Linked DNA regions of Homo sapiens: regions 2, 3 and 4 are each linked to region 1. The links are contacts of gene promoters, found by promoter capture Hi-C in blood cells and fetal thymus (Javierre and others, 2016). All regions are on one chromosome and are shown on one strand. The core of a region is centred on a gene start or on the middle of the fragment in contact, and the rest is flanking DNA. Distances in the headings are between cores, read along the strand shown. Region 1 holds the start of C2orf68 (chromosome 2 open reading frame 68). Region 2 has its middle 26 kb from the start of MIR6071. Region 3 overlaps ATOH8 (atonal bHLH transcription factor 8). Region 4 has its middle 10 kb from the start of ATOH8.

Region 1 (5,432 bases), core at 1,512-4,011:
CAGGCCTAGACTCACATGTGGAGCAGACGCTTCCCATTGGGGGTCCTGAGGAAAACAGGGCTCAGGGTCTGACAATGATTACTACCATGGCCCAGGACCTTCAGGCTGCAGCTGTTTCCACCAGGCGTACCTGATAGACGATAACTGATGTGACCTCTCCACTGTCTGCCTCGTATTCTAAGCAGAAGAGCTGATGGCCAGAAGGCTCCAGCTCAGAGCCTCCACTACTGCTGCTTTCACCGGACTCTTCATAGTCTGGGTTGCGTGGGTGGGCAGAGACATCTGGAAGGATGAACCACAGTAAGAAAGAAGAGGGGGGGTGCTGCTGAAGGCCCTGTCCATAGAGATGCTGCAGGAAAATATACGGTTAGGAAAGCCCCAGTCTTCTTTTTTTTGAGACGAAGTCTCACTCTGTCGCCCAGGCTGGAGTGCAGTGGTGCAATCTCGGCTCACTGCAACTTCCGCTCCCAGGTTCAAGCGATTCTCCTGCCTCAGCCTCCCGAGTAGCTGGGATTACAGGCAAGTGCCACCACATCCAGCTAATTTTCATATTTTTAGTAGAGATGGGGTTTTACCATGTTGGCCAGGCTGGTCTCAAACTCCTGACCTCAGGTGATCCACCCACCTTGGCCTCCCAAAGTGCTGGGATTACAGGCGTGAGCCACTGCACCCAGCTGCCCCAATCTTCTTATGGGTCCAGTGTAAGTGGTTTTTTTTTTTTTTTTTTTGAGACGGAGTCTTGCTCTGTTGCCCAGGCTGGAGTGCAGTGGCTAAATCTCGGCTCACCGCAACCTCTGCCTCCCAGGTTCAAGCAATTCTCCTTCCTCAGCCTCCCAAGTAGCTGGGATTACAGCCGCCTGCCATCATGCCTGGCTAATTTTTGTATTTTTAGTAGAGATGGGGTTTCACCATGTTGTCCAGGTTAATTTCGAACTCCTGGCCTCAAGGGATCCGCCCACCTCGGCCTCCCAAACTGCTAGGATCACAGGCATGAATCACCGCGCCCGGACCAGTGTAAGCATTTGGTGTGCTGCCAATCAAGGACTTATTTACCTTTGCATCCCTGCTCTGAGGCCAGCACAATCCTGTCACACAGTAGGTACACAATGCACATTTGTCTAGCAAAAAGTACTGGAAAGCAGAAGGGTGGATAGAGCTCTGCCTGGGTTCAAATCCAGGCTCTGCCATTTACTAGCTGAGATCTTGGGCAAGTTGTTTAACCTCTCTGTGCCTGTTTCCTGACTGTGAAACAGACAGAAGCTTTCTTATGAGGTTGTATAAAGACTCAATGAATTAATATACGTAAGATCTAAAAGCACTTTCACTAATGCCTAACAAAGGTAGTGGCACACACCTATAATCCCAGCACTTTGGGAGGCCGATGCGGGCAGATCACCTGAGCTCAGGAGTTCGAGATCAGCCTGGACAACGTGGAGAAACCCCTTCTCTCTCTCTCTTTTTTTTTTTTTTTTGAGACCGAGTCTTGCTGTGTTGCCCAGGCTGGAGTGCAGTGGCGCGATCTCGGCTCACTGCAAGCTCCGCCTCCCGGGTTCACGCCATTCTCCTGCCTCAGCCTCCCGAGTAGCTGGGACTACAGGCGCCCACCACCACGCCCGGCTAATTTTTTGTATTTTTAGTAGAGACGGGGGTTTCACCATGTTAGCCAGGATGGTCTCGATCTCCTGACCTCGTGATCCGCCCGCCTCGGCCTCCCAAAGTGCTGGGATTACAGGCGAGAGCCACCGCGCCCAGCCGGGGAAACCCCTTCTCTACAAGAAATACCAAAATTAACCGGTGTGGTGGCACACGCCTGTGGTCCCAGGTACTCGGGAGGCTAAGGCTGCAGTAAGCCCAGATCGCACCATTGCACTCCAGCCTGGGCGACAGAGACCTAGTCTCAAAAATAAAATAAAAACATTTTAAAAAAAGTAATAATGCTTAACAAAAATTGACCGTCATATATTAACCAGTGTGATCTCTAGGTAGCAGAGAAGCTGGGGAAAGGCCATTTACTGGGTTCATTCCGCAATTATGTGCTGGTCGCTCATCGCTGTGCCAGACTTTCTCTTTGCTAGGTAGCGGAGCACCTTACTAAAATACAGCACGGTGGGGCAAACCGGCAGATAAACTTCTTGCTGGCTCCCCGATACTCTGACAGCGATGCTTAACTGGGGGCTTATGAGTCGTCCCAGTTCTTGGTGAGAATCATTCAGCGGAGATTTGGGAGCGCTGAGGTGGAGGTTCCGGAAAGAGACGAGATGAGCTGAACCTTAGGAGTAAGAAGTGGTTTTTCCCTATAGAGAAGGGGAGTGCGTTGCAGGAAGAGCGCGCGGGCTGGAGGCAGGCGGGGCGGGCGGCCTCACCTCGGTGTCGCGGCAGGTACACCTGCAGGTCTGGCTTGCGGGGCCGCGTCGGCGCGGGCGTGTGCCGCCTCCTCACCTTCTCCTTGGCCGCCTGCTTCACCTTCTTGTCATAGTCGTCCCTGCGGGGAGCCGAGCGGGAGTCAGGGACTGTCGGGCCGGGCCAGGCCAGGCCAGGAGTGGTGGCGGCGGCGGCGCAGGGCGGGGCGGTACCGAGCGATCTGGTTCCGTCGGATATGGTGCACGAAGCCGTGGTTCATGTCCAGCCGCCCCCCAGGCTTGCAGCAGTGCCCCGGCCGGGGATGCGGCCCCGCCTCCATCAGGAGCCGGGGACGCAGAGTCGCCGCCGCCTCGACGGCCCCAACAACAGCCACCCGCCCACAGAGCTCCGCGCCGCCCCTTGCTCAGCTTCCGGCCCCGCATCCTGACTTCCGGTCTGGGAGGCCCCGGCCTGGCCAAGCGATGCAGCGCACGGAGTTTTCGGGTCTGGTCGGGTCGGGTGGAGTAGGGTATGCTTGACTTCCACCCCCCGGACGGAGGGCTTTTGTTTTTGTTTTTTTTTGTTTGTTTTTTCGTAACATATCAATAGGAAACAAGGACTTCGGCTTACAGCTGATACCAGAACCTTCAGAAAAATGCAAATCATCTATAACACAACTCGATGCTTACGGCGGTGCCTTCCCATCTTTTTTCTGGTAATAGGATGCTGTGCAATCCATCGCCATCTGCGTGACTTTGGCTGACTGTGTAACGCTGCCACTTCTCAGTTTCCTCATTAGTAAATGGGAACACCTAGAGCACCTACCTCAAATGGATTGTGAGGCCTTGAAGTGCTCAGGCAGGGCAACAGCGGCGCCCAGGCCGCAGGCGCCGCGAAGGCTCTCCTGGCCCGGCTTGCCTCCTGCTCACGGCGCCGATGGCTTAACTGTCCCCGCGGGAGGACCCAGGGTTTTTGAGGGACCTACGGGTGTATTATTTTCTTTTTTATTTATTTTTCCTTTTTTTTTTCTTTTTGAGAAGGAGTCTCACTCTGTCGCTCAGGCTGGAGTGCATTGGCGTGATTTCGGCTCACTGCAACCTCCGCCTCCCGGGTTCAAGCGATTCTCCTGCCTCAGCCTCCCGAGTAGCTGGGACTACATGCGCGTGCCACCACGCCCGGCTAAGTTTTGTATTTTTGGTAGAGATAAGGTTTCACCACGTTGGCCAGGCTGGTCTCGAACTCCTGACCTCAGGTGATCCGCCTGCCTCGGCCTCCCAAAGTGTTGGGATTGCAGGCATGAGCCACCGTGCCCGGCCCCTTTTTTTTTTTTTTCTATTTTTTCTGACCACTGGGTTCACGTCACAGCGTGTAAAATTCTCAAGTCCTTTTACAAAAGTCAAAATCAGGAATTCATGATTAGGACAGGGACAAACGGCTGGATGCAGTGGCTCATGTCTGTAATTCCAAAACTTTGGGATGCCGAAGTGGGAGTATCGCTGGAGGGAGGAATTTGAGACCAGCCTGGGCAACACAGCGAGACATCGTCTCTACAAGAAAAAAATACATTAAAAAAGAAAGAAAGAGCCGGGCGTGGTGGCTCACGCCTGTAATCCCAGCACTTTGGGAGGCCCAGGCGGGCAGATCAAGAGGTCAGGAGTTCGAGACTAGCCTGGCCAAAATGGTGAAACCCCGTCTCTACTAAAAAAAAATACAAAAAATTAGCTGGGCTTGATGGCCGGTGCTTGTAATCCCAGCTACTTGGGAGGCTGAGGCAGGAGAATCGCTTGAACCCGGGAGGCGGAGGTTGCAGTCAGCCGAGATCGAGCCACTGCAGTCCAACCTCCAAATCAAAAAACAAAAAACAAAAACAAAAAACAGGGACCAATGGTGGTCCAGCCACACGATGGAATATTACTGAGCAATCCAAAGGAAGATCTGTAGCTCAACAACATGGATGGATCATAAAATAAATATGCCCAGTGAAAGAGGCCAGGGACTCTGTATGATTCCATTTATATGAGACTCTAGGAAGTGCAAACTAATCTATAGTGACCGAGAGATCAGTTGATTTTTGTGGGGGTTCTCTGGGAGGAAGAGGATATCTTTGGGGCTGGGTAGATTCTTTAAATTTTTTTTTATTTTTTTATTTTTTTGAGGCAGGATCTCACTGTCGCATAGGTTGGATTGTAGTGGTGCAATCACTGCTCACTGCAGCCTCCACCTCTCAGGCCCAAACGATCCTCCTGCCTCAGCCTCCTGAATAGCATGCCACCATGCCCAGCTAATTTTAAAATTTTTTTGTGGAGATGGGGGGGGTCTCTCTATGTTGCCAAGGCTAGTCTTGAACTCCTGACCTCAAGTGATCCTCCTGCCTCAGGCCTCCCAAAGTGCTGGGATTATAAGTGTGAGCCACCGTACTGGGCCCAGATCCCGTCTCTTGATTGTGGTGATGGCTTCATGGGTGTATATGTTACAGGAAAGGGATCCCTATTCAGACCCCAGCAGAGGGTTCTTGGATCTTGTGCAAGAAAGAATTCAGGGTGAGTCCACAGTGCAAAGTAAAAGCAAGTTTATTAAGAAAGTAAAGTAGCCAGGTGTCGCGGCTTATGCCTGTAATCCCTGCACTTTGGAAGGGGAGGCGGGCGGATCACTTGAGGTCAGCACTTCCATACCAGCCTGGCCAACATGGTGAAACTCTGTGCCTACTAAAAATACAAAAATTAGCCGGGCATGGTGGCAGGTGCATGTAATCCCAGCTACTCAGGAGTCTGAGGCAGGATAATCACTTGAACCCAGGAGGCAGAAGTTGCAGTGAGCCGAGATCTCACCAATGCACTCCAACCTGGGTGACAGAGCAAGACTCTGTATCAAAAAAATAAAATGTAAAGTAGTGAAAGTACAGCTACTCCATTGACAGAATAGGGCGTTCCTGAAAGTAAAAGGAGGAACGCATCCACCATGGCTACAATGCTTGTTTATATATAGGATAAAAAGATCATGGGGAGATGTGCTCTGCTACAAGGGTTTGTGATAAAGGATTAATTTTATTATTATATTTTGCAAGAAGAAATATTATCTTTAAAGCAAAATTA
Region 2 (5,432 bases), core at 1,245-3,744, 200 kb after region 1:
AATAGAGTAAGGATTGACCCCTGTCCTCAGAGCACACACTCTCTGGAAGGACAAGATTTATAAACAATTAATTATAAGTATCGTGGCACTTGCTGTAACAAAGGTATGCAGAAAGTGTGCAAAGGAGGTAACAAGCATTTCAGCCTGTGGTGGATGCAGGGTGAAGGAGGTGAAGTCATGGGAGTTGGGGTGCCCAGTGAGCGGTAAAGGGATAGAAAGCTGCAAAGGTCAGCCAAATCCAGCATGGGAAGGGCCTTGAAAGCTTGGGAAGGAATTTGAGTGATACAATTTTTTGGCAGAGGGGTGCCATGATTTTGGAAAGATCACTTTGGTGGCAATGTGGAAGGTGCAAAAGGCGGCTATTGCAGGGCCCAGGATGTGGGGTTGCTTACATCAGACCTCCTGCTACAAGGACAGAATTGATCGGGGACAATTTCTAGGGACAGGATTGATCTGGGGGGTATGTGGCCCCAGATGAGGAAAGAGAAGTCCAGGAGGTGGTAAAATAAGTCCTTTCTTCTAACTCCCCTGCTAGGTAGGCACTGTACCAGTTAGGAAGGCATTTGGCTGCAGGTAACAGGAAACCTGGTTCTAGAAGTTTAATCACACAGGGGTGCCTTTTTCTCATAATAAGAAATCAGTAAATGGTGGTTGCTGACTTTGCTGTGGTAACTCGACAACTCTGAGATTCTTATGGCCTCTCCTCATGGTCTTAATGTGGTTGGTACAACTCTAAGTATCGTGTCTGTGTTTAAAAGAAAACCAAGAGGCAGAAAGGTGGAAAGAGAGGGCCATACCAGCTGCACCCTTTTGTCAGGAAACCAGTTTTACTTGACATTTGCACCCCACCCCCTGCCAGCTTCCACCTATATCTTATGGCCCTATCCTGGGTGCAAGGGGGCTGGGGAACTGAGGAACAGGCTTGTCATGCTCAGTGGAGCCTCTTTGTGGGACCAGGCCCATTTCCATTCCAAATGAATTGGGTTTGTTACAAGGAAGAAGGGGAAATAGATATTGATAGGCAGAAGCATGTCCCCAAACATGGCCAGAGATGGTGTATCTTCTGCCATAGGAACTCCTGGTGCATGGCACGAATTCAGACATCCTGCCTTCTGGACCTGACACTATGAAGCCCCACTGTGTTTCCCCACTCCCATTCCAGGCCTCTGCCTCAGTGGGTCCCAGTTCATCCCTGTCCATCCCAGAGGGGCCCTCTGAAGTAGATCCAGGCCCTGGGTGGGGGCAGTGGCTAGTGCTAAGCAGAGTGGGACGAGAGCACCATCACTGAGTTCCCTACTGACCGTTTCTGAGCTGAGCTGGCACAGAGGTCCTGGGAACAGAGGCTGTCTACAGCCTGGTATTCTGGTAGCACAGAAGGCTCCTGGAAAGCCATCTAACCCATCTTGCTGGTCTCTTCTTGTGGCACATGATAGTAAGCCATGAGGACTCTTGAGGACAGATGGGAAGGTCATATGAAAACTCCTAGCAAAGTGCATTTACCGTGGAACGAGGAGGACCTGGATTCTTCCAAAATCCAACTTGGTGATAAGCTGAGTCATGCGTGGTAACAAATGCCCCGACAAGTATAATTGCTTAAACACGAAGATGTATTTCTTGTTCACTCTGAATGTCCATCGTCAGTTCACAGGGGCTCTGCTCCATGTCTCTCCACTCTGGGATCCAGGCTGATGGAGCAGCCACCATTTCTAACTTGCTGCTTGCTATGAGAGAGGGAAAGAAGAGATCTGGAGGGTTTACTGTGGCATTTCCTTACTATTTATTTATTTATTTATTTTTTGAGACAGTCTCTTATTCACTCAATGGCCCAGGTTGGAGTGCAGTGACGTGATCTCAGCTCGCTGCAACATCTGTCTCTCATGTTCAAGAGATTCTCCTGCCTCAGCTTACAGAGTAGCTGGGATTATAGGCATGCACCACCATGCCCAGCTAATTTTTGTATTTTTAGTAGAAACGGGGTTTCATCATGTTGGCAGGCTGGTCTCAAACTCCTGGCCTCAAGTGATCCGCCCACCTCAGCCTCCCAAATTGTTGGGATCACAGGGGTGAGCCACTGTGTCCAGCCTCACTATGACATTTAAATGCCCTGATTTGGGAGAAACTCACATAATTTCTGCTCACAACAAATTGGCCAGGGCCAGTTTCATGGCCCTGCCCTACCACAGAGGGGCCCTGAGTGTGATCTTACCACGGGCCTGGAAGACAGAGAGTAGGGAATGCATTCATGACAACCACAGTGACCTTGGGAAAGTTGTCTTAGTTCTCTGGGCCTCCTTTTTTTCACCTGAAAGTAGTGTTCTTAAAGCAAAGACAGAGTGGTTAAAATGGCTCTTAGAATCCCTCCAGCCACTGGAGATAGCCATTGGCTAAAAATGAACCTCAAATTAACCTCATACCCCATACAAAAATTAACTCAAAATGGATCACAAACGTAAATGGACTTTACAAAACTATAAAACTTGAAAAAGCATAAGGGCAAATCTTTGGAATCTGGGGCTGGACAAAGGGTTTTTATTCCTGATACCAAAAGCATGATCCACAAAAGAAAATTGGTTCAACATGGATCATGAATTGATAACTTGGGCCTCATTAAAAAATCCTATATGAAAAACTTCTGCTCTGCAACAGATCCTGTTAACAGGGTCAAAGACAAATTACACAAAGCTACACATATAATAAAATTGCAAAGAGCAACACACACCCAGACACATACACACATACATGAGTGCACATATATCTGGTGAAATCCGGATACATTCTAAGGACTATACCAAGTTTCCTGGTTTTGATATGGTCCTATGGTAATTTATCAAGACATTGGCAGAGTCTGGGTGAAGGGTGCATGGAACCTTCCTGTACATTTCCTTGCACCTTTCTATGGATCTGTAATTACTACAAAATGAGACCAAAAGAATCCTGGCTGGGCACGGTGGCTCACACCTGTAATCCCAGCACTTTGGGAGGCAGAGGCGGATGGATCACTTGAGCTCAGGAGTTCGAGACCAGCCTGGACAACATAGTGAGTCTTCTTTTCTGCAAAAAATACAAAAATTAGCTGAGCATAGTGGTGTGCGCCTGTCCCAGCTCATCGGGAGGCTGAAGTGGGAGGATTGCTTGAGCCTGGGAACTTGAGGCTACAGTGAGCCATAATTGTGCCACTGCACTCTAACCTAGACAACAGACTGAGACCATGTCTCAAAAAAAAAAAAAAATCCCTTCAGCCACCCATAAAGAAATCTGCTTTGGGGATCATAAGCATTCGTATATTTAAACACCTAAGTCACTCTTAGTCCTGCAACATGTTCCCGATGGGCTGAGGGGCCAGCAGATCCCATCCCCCAGAGTGTCATTGCATGGAATACATGAAGAACCACCTGAATCACTGCCACTGACATTTCTCTGGCTCTGTCACTTTTATCGTTTACACTGGTCCACAGCTTTTTATCAGAAACCCTTGGGGCCAGGAAGTTTCAAAGATGTGTATTTTTTTTTAAAGGGGAGTTAGAAAAGTTGTCTAGGGTTGTGGTGTTTATTAGGTAACTCTCCCTCCCCCAACAGGATGTGGGGCAGACCCTGTCATCAAACACATTTAATGTAATTAATATTCACAAATGTAAGGTATAAATACTCCCAAGGAGTGAGATAAATACAGACTAAAATTATCTTGTGTCACTTCAAGTCACCAAATGAGTTCTGTTCAGGTCAGATTTAGCCCTAGACATTACACACGTGCTCACACGCATGCACGCACGGCTGGTTTTCCGAGCTTTTGGATCTGGGAATTGCAGAGCAGAGGCTGTGCAGCATGGCCGAATGTGCCTACCGTGACTCCTCGGGTGCCAGGCCCAGGCCTTGTCTGACCCATGGGTTGTGTGGACAAGAGGCCACTGCGCCTCAGGGTGCCAGGGATCCCAGGCTCCTGAGAGTGAGGGGCTCAGAGCTTCCCCAGCTGTCACCTTCACACCTGGCCACTTGCCCCTAGATCTGCTGGACCCTGAAACACACTCCTCCCGTTACTGGCTGGTTGTGGGTGTCGTGGTGTCACAGCCCCTGGAGAAAATCCCCCAACCCCCACCAACCTTTGTCCCCTCCAGAGAGCATGGGCACCTTATCTGCAGCCCAGGTGGCTCCTAATCTTCTTAGACTCCAAGGTGCTGGGTCTGGCAGGAGCCAGAGACGGAGCCCAGGCCCGCCCTGGTTTTACAGATGAGGGAACTGAGACCCAGAGAGAGTGAGTGAATTACCTAGACTCACACAGCAGGTCAGTCTGGGCACTGTACTGGATGATTCCTGGCAGGGAGAGGGGTGCTGGAGGCATGTTTAAAAATCAGGGACTGGAAGAGCCTCTCAGCCTCAGAGAAGACATCTGAAGCAGCCTCTGAGCCACACGGAGCACCCCCCGCCCCCACCCCAATGAAGTGGGAGAGGTTCCCAGGCGCAGGGGGAGGAAAGGGGTCATGCAACCACGTCCTTGCCTCCCGCCACGAGTGTACCCCGAGTCACCAGGTTTGCTCAGCCGCAGCAGGGCCAGCCCCGGCGGCTGGAAGGCGGCGGCTGGGCCTGGACGTGGGTGTGGGCGCCCCCGGCCTCCCCCCGCCCCCGCAGGCGCCCCCCACCCCCCTAGCAGGCGCCCCGGTCCCTGTGTGGGCTGCTTTGACTCAGCGCCGGGAGCCGAGCTTAGGCAAACCACGCCGCACTGGACGCCATTCAAGCTTTTACAGGCCCTCAAATTGGGGCTGGAGCCGGAGAGGAAATACTAAAATCCTGTGTACACAACTTCTGTCTGGGCGCGCCGGGGCTCTGGGAAAATCAGGCGCGGCGAGGGACACATTTGGACTGTTTAAGGGCTCCTTTTCCCTGCTCTGCTTTTAGCAGGCATCACGATGTGTCGCCTAAAACCAAGATTCCTGGGTGTGGGCGCAGGAGGGTCTGCGGAGTGTGTGAGCTGAGGCTCGGCGGGAGGAACTAAGCTTTTCTCCTGCCCCCACGTGCCAGGCACACATGCGCCCAAAGTTGGGTTCAGAAATCCCTGTGGTCCATAAACCACACACTCTGCATGGCCCAGGCCCCTTCCCCTGCAGAAAGATGCAGCTGTCGGATGCTGGATCCTCAGAGCCTGGGCTTGGGAGTTAGGCAGGCCTGGGTGGGAACCCGGCTCCCCACTTGGCAGCACTATGACTGTACTGTGGGCAAGGGCCTCTATTTCCTCATCTGTAAAATGGGCGTGATCATGGTAAGTTACCTTGGAGGTTAAAGACATGATGTAGGTGGGGAACTAGCTCAGAGCCTGGCACATAGTAGGTGCTCCCTAAGTGGTAGCTGTTAGTATTTATATGGATTAATAGTGATAGCATCATGTTGAGCCTGGCACATGCTAAGTGCTGCCTACAAATCAATTCATTTAATCCTCACAG
Region 3 (5,432 bases), core at 866-3,365, 180 kb after region 1:
CAAGATGGCGCCCCACTTGGAGGGCGGTGGTCTGTTACAGGGTGTGCAGGGGCAGAGAAGGAAGGGACCAGGGGACTGGGCCAGTATGTGGAGGATGGGGCCTGCGTGTTCAAAGCCAAGGCCCGCCCCTTCCTTGTGCTCAAATGGCCAAAGCTGTTCACGTCTGTGCTCAACCATCTGCTTCAAATTGAAGTAAAAGCCCCAAAATGTCAAGAAAATACTTGTGTTGAGTGGACTCTGTGGGTGACCAGGACTTTGGCCGGTCATCAGCTGGGGAGTGTGAGGGAGGGGGTTGGTTTCTACCTACAGGTTGAGAGCCCTTCAGGATCAGGCGCTGTCCGAGTGAGAGTGTGTGTGTCTGTGTGTGGAAGGGGGTGGAGGGCGGTTCCCACAGTAGTCTCAGCCTGGACTAGTGACCAGGAGGCCTGGTCAGGAACACATGAGGAGCCCTCTCTGTCCGCACTGCACTCAATCTGTACCATGGATTTATGAGATAGGGGCCCCTATTATTAACCCCGTTTCACAGATGGGGTAACTGAGGCCTCAAGTAGACAGGGTCAGTCGGTGACAGAGCCAGTCATCGAATCAGGATGGGCTCACTTCAAATCCTGTGCTCTCAAACCTTTTCCAGCCCCATCACCAGTCCCAGCCCAAAGTCTCTTGTGTGGCCTTGTCACATTGCTTCACCTCAGCGGGCCTAAGGTAGGGACAATAAAGGCCCATTGGGACTGGGGGAAGGGGTGATAAGATAAAAAATAGGAGAGCACTGTCAAGGCAGAAGGGACAGGGCTGGCCAAGGAAAGGGGGATAGGAGGGGACCGGAGGCTGCAGCCATACAGGACACAGTTTGTCCCTTGGTTTCACCAGTGTCACTTTCTCGTCTCTGCTGCTCAGACTCCTGGGCTGGGCTGGGGCTGGCTGCAGGGAGCCCCCCTTGCAGTAGCGTTTCTCAGGCTGGCCCTTTACCAAGGACCACAGTGTCCATGCTGTCTTGGATCCCTAGGCTGGCACAGAAACAGGGGACCCAGGTGGCCCTGAGCACTCCTCAGAGCAAAGGTGCTCTGGAAGCAGACTGGACAGAGTGGGCATGGAATGGGGCCAGGAGGGTCTGTTAGGAAGGTTCAGCCACCCTGTGAAGCTGGCACAGATAACAGCACTGCTCTGTTGTCCCTCGGAGCCTCTGAGTAACCCTGATGGCACTTCCTAAGGCAGCAGGACATGTGGACTGACCAGCATCAAACTGTTGACATAGAAGACCATTTCTATTACCAAAGGGAGTGTACCCCATTCTGCTGCCAAGGGAGCAAACCCATGGCCTTACCACCCAGAAAGAGCCCATCCTCCACCTCCCATCCCCCTCCTGCATACATACTTCATTACATGTTTCCCTTTCATTCTGAAGCATCATTGATGACCAGCTGCCTGTCAGACACTAAGATAGGCAGTGGGAATGAAGAGATGGATCTTGTGTCATGCATGGCATCACGGAGCTCTGGGTTCTGTACGGAGGGTGGGACAGACAGGTAGACAAGCAAATAATTATGATTATAGCAGATGACTAAGGTGTTGTCGGGAGCTTCAGGAAAGGAAGAACTAACTCTTGGGGAGGTTCTCAGGAAGGATTTCCCTGGAAAGTAGCCATGGGACTTGCGTCTTAAATGGTGAGTAAAAGCTTTCTGAGCAGGGGAGTAGGAAAAGGGCTTTCTATGCAGAGGAGCACTCAGCGCTGGCAGGAAATTGGAATCACCCAAGGAGATTATTAAATATTAAATATTGATATGAAGTATTGATGCCCAATTTCATCTCCAGAAATTCTGATGTATTGGTCTAGGGTGTTGCCTGGTCATTGGGATTTTTACAAGCTCCTCAAGTGATCTTAATGTGCAGGCAAGGTTGAAGCCGCTGGTCTAAGTGGGGTCTGGTCTACGATAAGAAAGTGACTTTGAGCCATCGATTTGGGAGACAGGCTCTGGGTGGATGTGTGTGTGTGCACACATATGTATGTATGTGGATGACTAAAAGTGCATGCTCTCCTCTCCTTTCCCAGCTTCCTCTCCAGCACAGCAACTTGTGTTCGTATGCACACACATGCATACTCTCTCTCATGGGCACATGCATACCCACACACACACTCGTGTACATTTCCAGAAAATGGAATTACATTTCAGATAGATTCAGATTCCAACGGCAGTCTTCTAAACACTTTTATGCAAGCAGCCATTCAAGGAGACCCTCAGCAAAATATAAATGACGAGGAGCTGCCCTCATGGGGCCCTGTGAAAGCACTTTGCAGTCCAGCCTTGGGTTTGTGGTCACAGAGTCACCTGTGGATGTTTGTAGCACACTCTCCTTGTCTTGTCTGCTCTGGGTCACCAGGCACAGGCCATAAAGGGATGAGGGGGCCCTCTCCAGGGACCCGCAAGATCTTCCTGGGTATGTCTGCATGAAGCCCCACGTGTGCACACCCATCTTCATGTGTGTGTGTGCCAGCCTCCTGCTCTCTGCAGAACAAAACCAGAAGGAATGGCTCTGGGAGTTGGAGATCTCAGCTCACAGGCCAAGCTTTGCAAGACTCTCCAAAGACTGCCCACAGACTGTGCTGCTTCCTGGGTCTGGCCTGAGACTATCCCAGAAGAGAGGGTTAAATTCTGGAGGTGAGGTTTTGAGCAAGTGTTCATCCCCCCACACTATGCTCCTTCCTGTCTCCATGGCCACATCCTTCAAGGCTCTGTGCTGTTCTCTTTTTTTCTGGATTTCTCCACCTCCACCAAGTTCCCCTTTCTCACAGCTAGTGGAGGCATGAGTAGGCAGGTCCCAGGGGCTGGGAACTGGGTAGCATTGCCATGTGCAGGGACTGTGTTGGGAGCTGCAGGTACAGAGCTCCTCTGTGCTCAAGAGCTTGCCGGTGAGCCTGGACGGAGGCATAGGTGCAGCTAATTAGGATAAGACAGGGGCCGCGCTGTGGTCAGCCGTGGGAAGCCGGCGAGGGGACTGGAGTTGGGGCTACACTTGCCTCCCTCCTATGCTGCTTCCTGAGCCACGAAGTGGTCATTGCCAGCATCCCAGGCAACAAACAGCAAGACTCAGACATCTCCAAGGAAACCCTTTGAGTGGATCTGTACCGTTGTTCTCGTCTTGCTCTCTTGCTGCCCTGCCACCTTCACAGCTGCTTTCTGTTTCCTGGTTCCAGGAAGACAGCGGGGCACAGGGTCCCTGCTTTGTGAGGAGCAGCTGGCTTCTCCCTTTGCCCCCAGGTTTTGCCCTCCCACATGTCTCCCTTCTGGTGACCCGGACCCCAGACAAACTATGCCTGCCTCCCTGAAGCCAGGCATCCTGAGGAACTTGATAGACAAACAATGACAGTGTTTTCCAGAACTGTGGGTACGTGTCTAATCTCAGATGGTACTATGAATTCCTGGAGATCAAAGTTTGGATCTAATTCAACCCCTGATCCTCGAAACGGCTTTCTTGCAAAGTGTATATATTGGTTTCTTTGCTGAATGAATGAATAAAACATGGAAAATGTGGTAATTCACTCATTTTTGTTTTCTTCCTTCCACAAATAACTCCCAAGCATCTAATTTGTTCAAGACCTGGGGAAAACAGGACCCAGGCCAGGTGATCTTTTATATGGCTTCGGAGAGGCTTGAAGGGAGAGGGGCTTAGAGCCGAGAGAAGCCTGGCCTTGGACCTTTTTGCTCTTTATGTGGCCGAGTCTTTGAGAACTGAGCGAAGAGGACAGCATCACAGCACACGTGCTGGCACACAGGCACTGAATGAACAGTTACTGAATGTGTAGATGAGTGAATGAATGCCGCCAAGCCTCCTTACAGCCCTGCCTCGGACATCACTAATCAACAGTGGCTCTTTTTCTCCAGGGGCTCCTACACTGCCTGAATTCCGCTCCAGACAATGCTCCAAGCAGTTACTACTAATGGATCGGAGAGATGAGCTCCCTCTGCCGCCCTGGTCCCGTGGCCTCCCTGGAGTGGGCCAGCCTCCTCGGGCCACCCCAGCATGGCGTGTTTGAGGTGATGTCAGGAGCTTCAACTTCACTGTTGCTCACGGGCCATGTGGCTGCCTCCTGACTGGCCTCTCTGTCAATGGTCTGTGACTTCCAACCCTGCCTCTGCCATGGCTGATAGGGGTTTATTTCCAAACTTCCTCCCTGGGCCCATTGCCTCCAGACTACAGCCCAGGCTCCTTAGCTGACCATCATGATGGTCTTGTGTGCCCTCCAGGTCCACAACATCTCCCTGTCGCCACTGTCTGGGCATGCCCACAGCTTGGCCGTCTGGGGGTGGTGGCCAAATCCCATCCTGAGATATCATTAACAGCCCCTCTTTCTCAGCCGTGGCCCTGTGTCCTTCTCTCTGGCTGCCCATGAAACAAGATTCTTTCTGATCTTAATGTTTGCTGCAAAGGAAGCAGTTTCTTTTTGTCCTAACATTACCCGGCGTTGTATCCCGCCTAGCGCCTGGGTCCCCGGGGAACTCTAGTTCTTTCAATCCCAGAACCTGGGGCGGACAGAGAGGCCCTACTTAACCTGGCAGCAACAACCTAGATGGCCGCCCTTCTGCCCTCGGGGCTCATCTTGCCTTTTCACATATAAATAAAAACATCTCCACTCCCACGCCATGTTCAGTGGGAAGCCAGCCCGGCATTGCCCGTGTCTCTGAGGATTCTCGAGGGACTTACATCCTTGGCTTTGATCTTTGGGGCCCACTGAATTCATCTCTTGCTCAGGGGCTCCCTATGGCTTCCTCCTTCTCTCTACTTTGTGGCCCTCAAGGGAACACACACACCTTTCCTCAGTTTCCCCAAAACATCCCTCACCCAAGGCAGTGGTGTGGAGAGGAATTATTTTTTCCATTCCTGATGAATCTTTTTAAATGCTTACATGCATGAAAAAACAAACAGGACCTTGCCTTTTACTTCCTAACTTATGCAGCTGATTTCATGTATTTTTGACAGGTTCATCATGTTTCTGGCAGTTGTAACTTTTTTCCCTTCTGGCTTCACTCCCTGGTGCTACATTTCTGGGCTGTGACTCACCCAAGGTTGTCTCACAGCTGGCACTTAAATCTAGTATTTTTTCTTCATTCTAACATCTTCCCCTGCCCCCCTTCATGCCCATCACCACCAATATGGTGGCTAATGGATAGACTATGAGCAAATACAGCAGCTGGTGAGGGCGCTCACCCACCCTCGGCCGCGCAAGTATCCAGGATCTCACCTCCAGGAGGAAAGATGCACCTCCCTGGACGAGCCAGCCTCTCCCCGGGCTCTCTTGTCACCAAGGCTTGTCCAAAGGCAGCAGATGGGCCACACAGCGGGGAGTGAGGCCAGGACAGAGCCTGCCCCCTCCCCAAGAAACCGGCAGAGCCAAGCCTGTGCCCCCAACCACCTCCAAAGCCATCTGGCCCACAGAC
Region 4 (5,432 bases), core at 985-3,484, 130 kb after region 1:
AGGTGATTAGGACACAGGCGGTCCTGCCATCGCCCTCTGGGGGACACTGGATCTTCCTTCTTGGACTGTGTACCTTCCTGCTCCAGAGCCCCTGACCATCAAGCTGAGCACCGACAGCCACTGCAGACTCCATCAGGCCCTCTCTCTGGGATCTCTTCGGTACTGCCAGCTCCCTTAAAGGTGCCAGGCTCTTCCCTGTATGGAGAAGCTGGCACCATAGAGAAGCGACCCAGCCACACAGGTCCTGGTGCCAGCTCTGAGCTGCCTGCTCTCGTCCTGTCTCACGGCTTCCCAAGCTGACGGACCTGCCTGGCTTCTCATGTGACTGCCCACTCACTCCTGGCCTGATGCTTGACAACACGTCTGGGACTCTCCTGGGCCAAGGACCCTACATCTCAGCCCAGGTCCCGCATGCTCTCTCAGTCCTGGGATCCCTGTCTCCTTTCCCATGCCACCTCCCAGCATCCTTGTTCCTGGGCAGGAGGTGCTTTGCAGCCCTGCTCCTCAGCTCTGTGACCCAGCCAGATTGGTGGCCAACTGCCCTCACTCTGGGGTCAGCTAACCACCTCTCTGTCCTCCTCCTCACCCTGCCACCTCACCTAGTCCCTTCCACCTCCATGGACTTCCCCTGGGGCCTCCCTCCCCACATCACAACCCTCCTTTGCTGAGATGAGCCCCACATCCCATGAGCTCATCCTTTCTTAGCAATGCTCCTCGGACCACCTCTTCCCCATGGACTGAGCCCCAGCTGGGGGCTGACCTTCGGCATCAAACGCCTGGCCCTTGACTCACAGCTCCCCTGTTCTGACACCCGGCCTTTGCCTGACCCCATGGGCAGGCCTGGGCGCCAGCCTTGCCCCCCCTGGCTGGCCCGTCCCCCTGCCGCCTGAGCCTGGGTTATGACATCTTTCCACTGAGCAGCTCTTATTTTGAGAAGGCAAACACGGCGGCGCCCACAGGCATGTGCACACGCCAGCACACGCACACACATACCCTGTCCATCCCCGGACTCCTCGCGCACTGGGGTTAAAATGTGGCTGGCCATGTTTATTTTTCTTCCTCTAATTTCCCCTTTGGAACAAACAACAGTCCTGTAACCCCGATCACCCTCCCCTTTCAGATCTGTGGTCTCCCACCACCCTTCTCCCGGGTCCTCCCCTCGCAGCTGTGAATGAGAACAGAGTAAGTCTTTTAGCGGGAGGCAGCAGCCTGAATGAATTGATCACAGCCTCAAAGCCAGCAGGATGGGGGGATGGTGAGCATGTGTGTTTGCTTCTTAAACGCTATTTGTACACCCTGAAGCTTCTATTTTTCCATGTGACTTGGAGCAAATGCCTTCCCCCAGCCCTCCATCCTTTTAAAATTTATTTCATTTCATTTTTGGTCCAATGCATTTTGTTTTCTGTTTTCTACAAGGGAGCCCGAATCAGGGCCTCAGAAAAACAAGGCCGAGCTGCCAACTGGAAATGTTTGCTCTGGGGGCGAGTTCGGAGGCTGGCGTCAGGCGGGGCAAGATCCGTGCCAGTGGAATGTGATTTGGGGAGGAAGCTGCAGGTCACTCAATCGCTGGCAGCCAGCCCGGGAGCAACTGGATGCTTTCTGGGCTGTGTGTGTGTGTGTGTGTGTGTGTGTGTGTGTGTGTGTGTGTGTATGTAGAGTTTTTTCCCTCATGCAAACAGAGCTCTGGAGACATGGAGACAGAAGCATTAGGAACAAATGAGACAGGGGGTTGGAAAATCAGGGGATCTGGGGGAATAAGGTGGGCTGGGGCGGGGAGAGGGTGCCAGGAGCTTGAGCAGCCATGTTATTCAGCATGTGCTGTGTGTTCAGCTCTGAGCTGGGAGCCTGCAGGAGCAAGGAGGGCTGCAAACCACATCAGCCCCCAGTGATCTGTGGGTTCTTTGGAGAAACAAGGCTTTCAGTATAGAACACTGGCAGGTGAGCCTGGAAGTTCCCAAGAGCGGAGTGTGTTCCTCTGGGCTGAGTGTGTCCAGGGAAGGCTTCCTGAAGGAGGTGTGGTAGGATCAGAGCCCTGAAGCATGTATGGTACTGCACTGAGAGGAGAGGAGAGACGTTCAAGGTGCAGTTATTAGCTGCCATCTGCCAAGCCCTGTGCTCAGCCCTTTACATTGATAATCTCCCTTTAATCCTCACAACAACCCTATGAGGGCCAGTAATCTTTCTATCCTAGCTTTGCAAACAAGGAAACTGAGGCCCGGTGAGATCAAGGAACTCAGCCAAACTCCCAGCTTGTAGGTGGTGAGCCAAGGGTCAATTCGGGACCATCCTTGTCCAAAGCCTGGGCTCTGTCCACCACCGCTGAGGGCCACTTTTCACTTAGCCGAGTTCCTTGTGGAAGGGCTTGTTTTCCCTGCCCCACTCAAAAGAGGATTGTTGAATTCAAGATGGGGAATGTTGGGGACCTAAGATGCCAGGGTAGACTTCCAGGGGGCAGTGTGACAAACGCTCCGAAGCCAGAGAGATAAACTACCTTGTTTCCTTGTTCCCAGGAGGTAGTGGCTGGGCCCCTTGGCAGTCCCCCCAGGGTTCATATCAGGTCAGCCCTCTCCTGCAGCCTACCCCCCTTACCAATGACCCACGCCACCCTCACACTCCCCCACACACCCCCATCACATGTCAAGTTCTTTGCCACCCCAAAGTGAAGGTCCGCCCACTTCCAGGAGTCCTCAGAAGTTATCTGTGTTGTTCTGAGTCACGCACGAAACTCAGTGAACCAGACAGAATGGATTTTCCCCAGGCAGCCACCACAACCCTGGAGTTGGAATCAGGAGACCTGAGCCAACTGAGTGGGGGGCAATTGGTTAAAGTCAACAGTCTACCTCCTGTGTGATATCAAGTGAGCCATGTCCATTCTTGAGCCTCAGTTTCCTCAGTTTTAAAATGAGGAGTGGCCTGAATGGTTTTTGAGCTGTCACAGATGGAAGGAGAGGCTCTAAGGCAGTGGAACTATCTGCAGGTGTTGGAAGGGTCAGTCAGGAAGACTTTCTCGAGGTGTTCAGCCCACTGCAGAAGGATTCTCTGGCAGAGGAAGCAGGATCTGTCACGGGCTCAAAAGGGGAAAGGAAAGAAGCCAGGCTGGAAGGGCAGGAGGAGATGATGGTGAGGGAGGTAGAGTCCTGGCCAGGGTGGCTAGAACACCTTGACTCAAGCTTGTCTGGTAGTAATCAGACGGCCAGTGATCCATCTGATTAGAACAACTTTGTTGACCACTTGGGAGTTCTATTGTCTTGAGCTCAGATAGTTGGTTAGCCTCCCCCATGAACTCTTTTTGGCCAAACTGAGCACTAACGTTAGGTAGACACTGGCTTGGGGCTTACCTGGGCCTGATACATCACCTACATTGGTTGAACTGACCAGTCGATTCCACGAGACAACTAATTTTACCGATTATTTCCAGGAAACAGGCAGTTTATAGCATTAACTAAAATCAGCAGTTGTTCTGGCTTTTTGGAGACAGTCTTTGGATCTGACATCTTCAGTCCTCAGAGACATTCAGGCTACCTGCCACTGACCAACAGTAGTCAGATTCCTGAGAAGGCTGGGAAAAACCCTACCAACAACGGGCGTCAGGACTCAGTCTCTCTCATCAAAAAAAAAAAAAAAAAAAAAAAAAGGCAGGATCGAACTAGACCAGGAGTGGCAAACACATGGTGTGAATCCTGCCACTCCTTTTCTTTCATCCATGGCAGACATTGCTAATCAATTATAGCACTCATTCCCAAAGGGACCCAGATGCAGCCTCAGGATCCTTTTCAACACAGAGCTTCAGGCAGCCTCTACCAATCAATTAGATTTGGCATGCGTGATAAAAAGCATTTGTCCTCTGGACTAGATGATCTCCAAGCCTCCCTCCAGCTGTGCTGATCTAGAATTGCAACTGATTAGGCATCTTGAGGACTCAGCCTGGGGACCACCAGGTCTACAGCTGTCCCTGGGGCATCCAGGTCTGTGGGGCTGCCCTCGAGCTGGTGCCTTATTAATTTTCCTCACTGCTAATAAATGTGCATTGCGTCAGCTCTGTTCTGCCCCCTCATGTTCTCTGGCTGCTGCCATCAGTGGGGACTTTTTCAGAGAGCTGCAAAAATAGTTTTTTGTTGTTGTTGTTTGAGGAGCCTACACAGAAGCAGCAGCCAAGGCTTTTTTGCTTCCTTTCTTTTCTGAGGGAATGGGGAAATGCGGAGGGAAGACCTCACAATGAAGGAATGTGCTCCTTGGGGAACTGAAAGTTGTTTTCCTTAAAGAAGAAGAAGATGAAGAAGAAGTCAGCACACTCTAACTTCACATCTAGCCGCAAAGCACATCTGCAGGGATTGCTAACAGCTCCCAGGAGATCGCTGGCTCAAGCCAAGCCTGGTTAGGCTGTTGACAACTAGGTCCTGATGAGCAGAGCCCTAATGAGCAGCTTGCTCACTGTCTGCCCTCCCGGCTCATCCCTCGTTGATGTTCATTGGGCTCATCGAGGCCCTGGGAGACAGTTTTTCTTGCCTGCGATGGATGTTAGGCATGCAGGGGAGCTCACTTTCTCACGGGTGAATGTTTCACTTTTCCCCACTGCTGTGCTCTGGGGTTTTTAAGAGGCTTAAGACAAATCCTAAGACACTAGGGATGGGAAGAGCTTGAGATCTGTGGGTTCCAGCTCCCCCTCTCTTTTCTCCGTTTACAGATGAAGAGGCTGAGGCTTGCGGTGGGGCGGGAGGGGGAAGATAGAGGACAGGGGAGGCAGATGCCGAAGGGTACCGAGCTGGTCCTGGGAAGAGAATGCATCTCTCAACTTCCAGACCACTAAGTCAGAGGTGCAGAAAACTCAGAGAGTGTCCAGCCCAGAGCTTCTTGAACTTGAGTAACATATGCCCTCGTCCCAAAAGGAAACACATTGTCCCAGAACCCTAAGATCAGAATTATGCTCTTGTACTTTATGTTTTTAATTCTTATATAACTATAAGCCCAAAACAAATTAATAAATGAATACAAGCAAAACTACAAAGGTGATCAAAATTCACTTTAACAAACAGGTTAATATGATGAATAATATTGTTTTGCAGAAACAGAATCTCACAGGGCACAGGAGAGGAGCAGAGCACCAGCAGGGGACCCTAACCTTCTTCCTGCATCCATCAGAGCCTTCAGAATGAAGAATCTGGGGGACAGGAGGATGTCAGGGGGAGGGAAGAGGAGCAAGAGAAGGCAGGGACAAGTCAGATGCCAGGCAGAGGAAGCCGAGAGCCTGGAGACTTGGCTGCTCCAAGGCAGCGCACTTATCCTCTTGGGGCCGACCATGTTTCTTCCTTAGGCAGGGCTCCTTGAGGCTGAAATCATCCCTAACAGACCCTCAACGGTCAGGACAGTGTCATGTCACCTGCCAGTGGGAACCTCACTGGGCTCTGCCCACACCCAAGCACTGCTCCTACCTG

The links. Contacts are between HindIII fragments. The CHiCAGO score rates a contact against its expected background, and 5 or more counts as called.
Region 2: a fragment that was not itself captured here is called in contact with the fragment with the promoter of C2orf68 in region 1 in 3 of 17 cell types (monocytes, erythroblasts and M0 macrophages); the score reaches 12.5 in monocytes.
Region 3: a fragment that was not itself captured here is called in contact with the fragment with the promoter of C2orf68 in region 1 in 1 of 17 cell types (monocytes); the score reaches 6.6 in monocytes.
Region 4: a contact is called between a fragment that was not itself captured here and the fragment with the promoter of C2orf68 in region 1, in 1 of 17 cell types (monocytes). The highest score is 5.0, in monocytes.

What each region holds. Positions count from the first base shown.
Region 1 is chr2:85,609,305-85,614,736 of GRCh38, forward strand. It overlaps C2orf68 (chromosome 2 open reading frame 68), which reads right to left and starts at 2,762. Exons shown (of 4, transcript NM_001013649.4): 1 at 2,574-2,762; 2 at 2,364-2,482; 3 at 131-282. The coding sequence starts at 2,680. It also overlaps a transcript of USP39 not described here. RefSeq lists silencers at 2,533-2,914, 2,534-2,603, 3,090-3,262 and an enhancer at 2,874-3,103. The HindIII fragment of the contact is 26,854 bases long and covers 1,259-5,432 here.
Region 2 is chr2:85,806,705-85,812,136 of GRCh38, forward strand. No RefSeq gene overlaps it. Among named protein-coding and RNA genes, the nearest start is that of MIR6071, 26 kb to the left of the region's middle. The HindIII fragment of the contact is 4,468 bases long and covers 261-4,728 here.
Region 3 is chr2:85,787,849-85,793,280 of GRCh38, forward strand. ATOH8 (atonal bHLH transcription factor 8) reads left to right here. Exons shown (of 3, transcript NM_032827.7): 3 at 1-3,535. Among named protein-coding and RNA genes, the nearest start is that of MIR6071, 6.9 kb to the left of the region's middle. The HindIII fragment of the contact is 890 bases long and covers 1,671-2,560 here.
Region 4 is chr2:85,741,116-85,746,547 of GRCh38, forward strand. No RefSeq gene overlaps it. Among named protein-coding and RNA genes, the nearest start is that of ATOH8, 10 kb to the right of the region's middle. The HindIII fragment of the contact is 1,868 bases long and covers 1,301-3,168 here.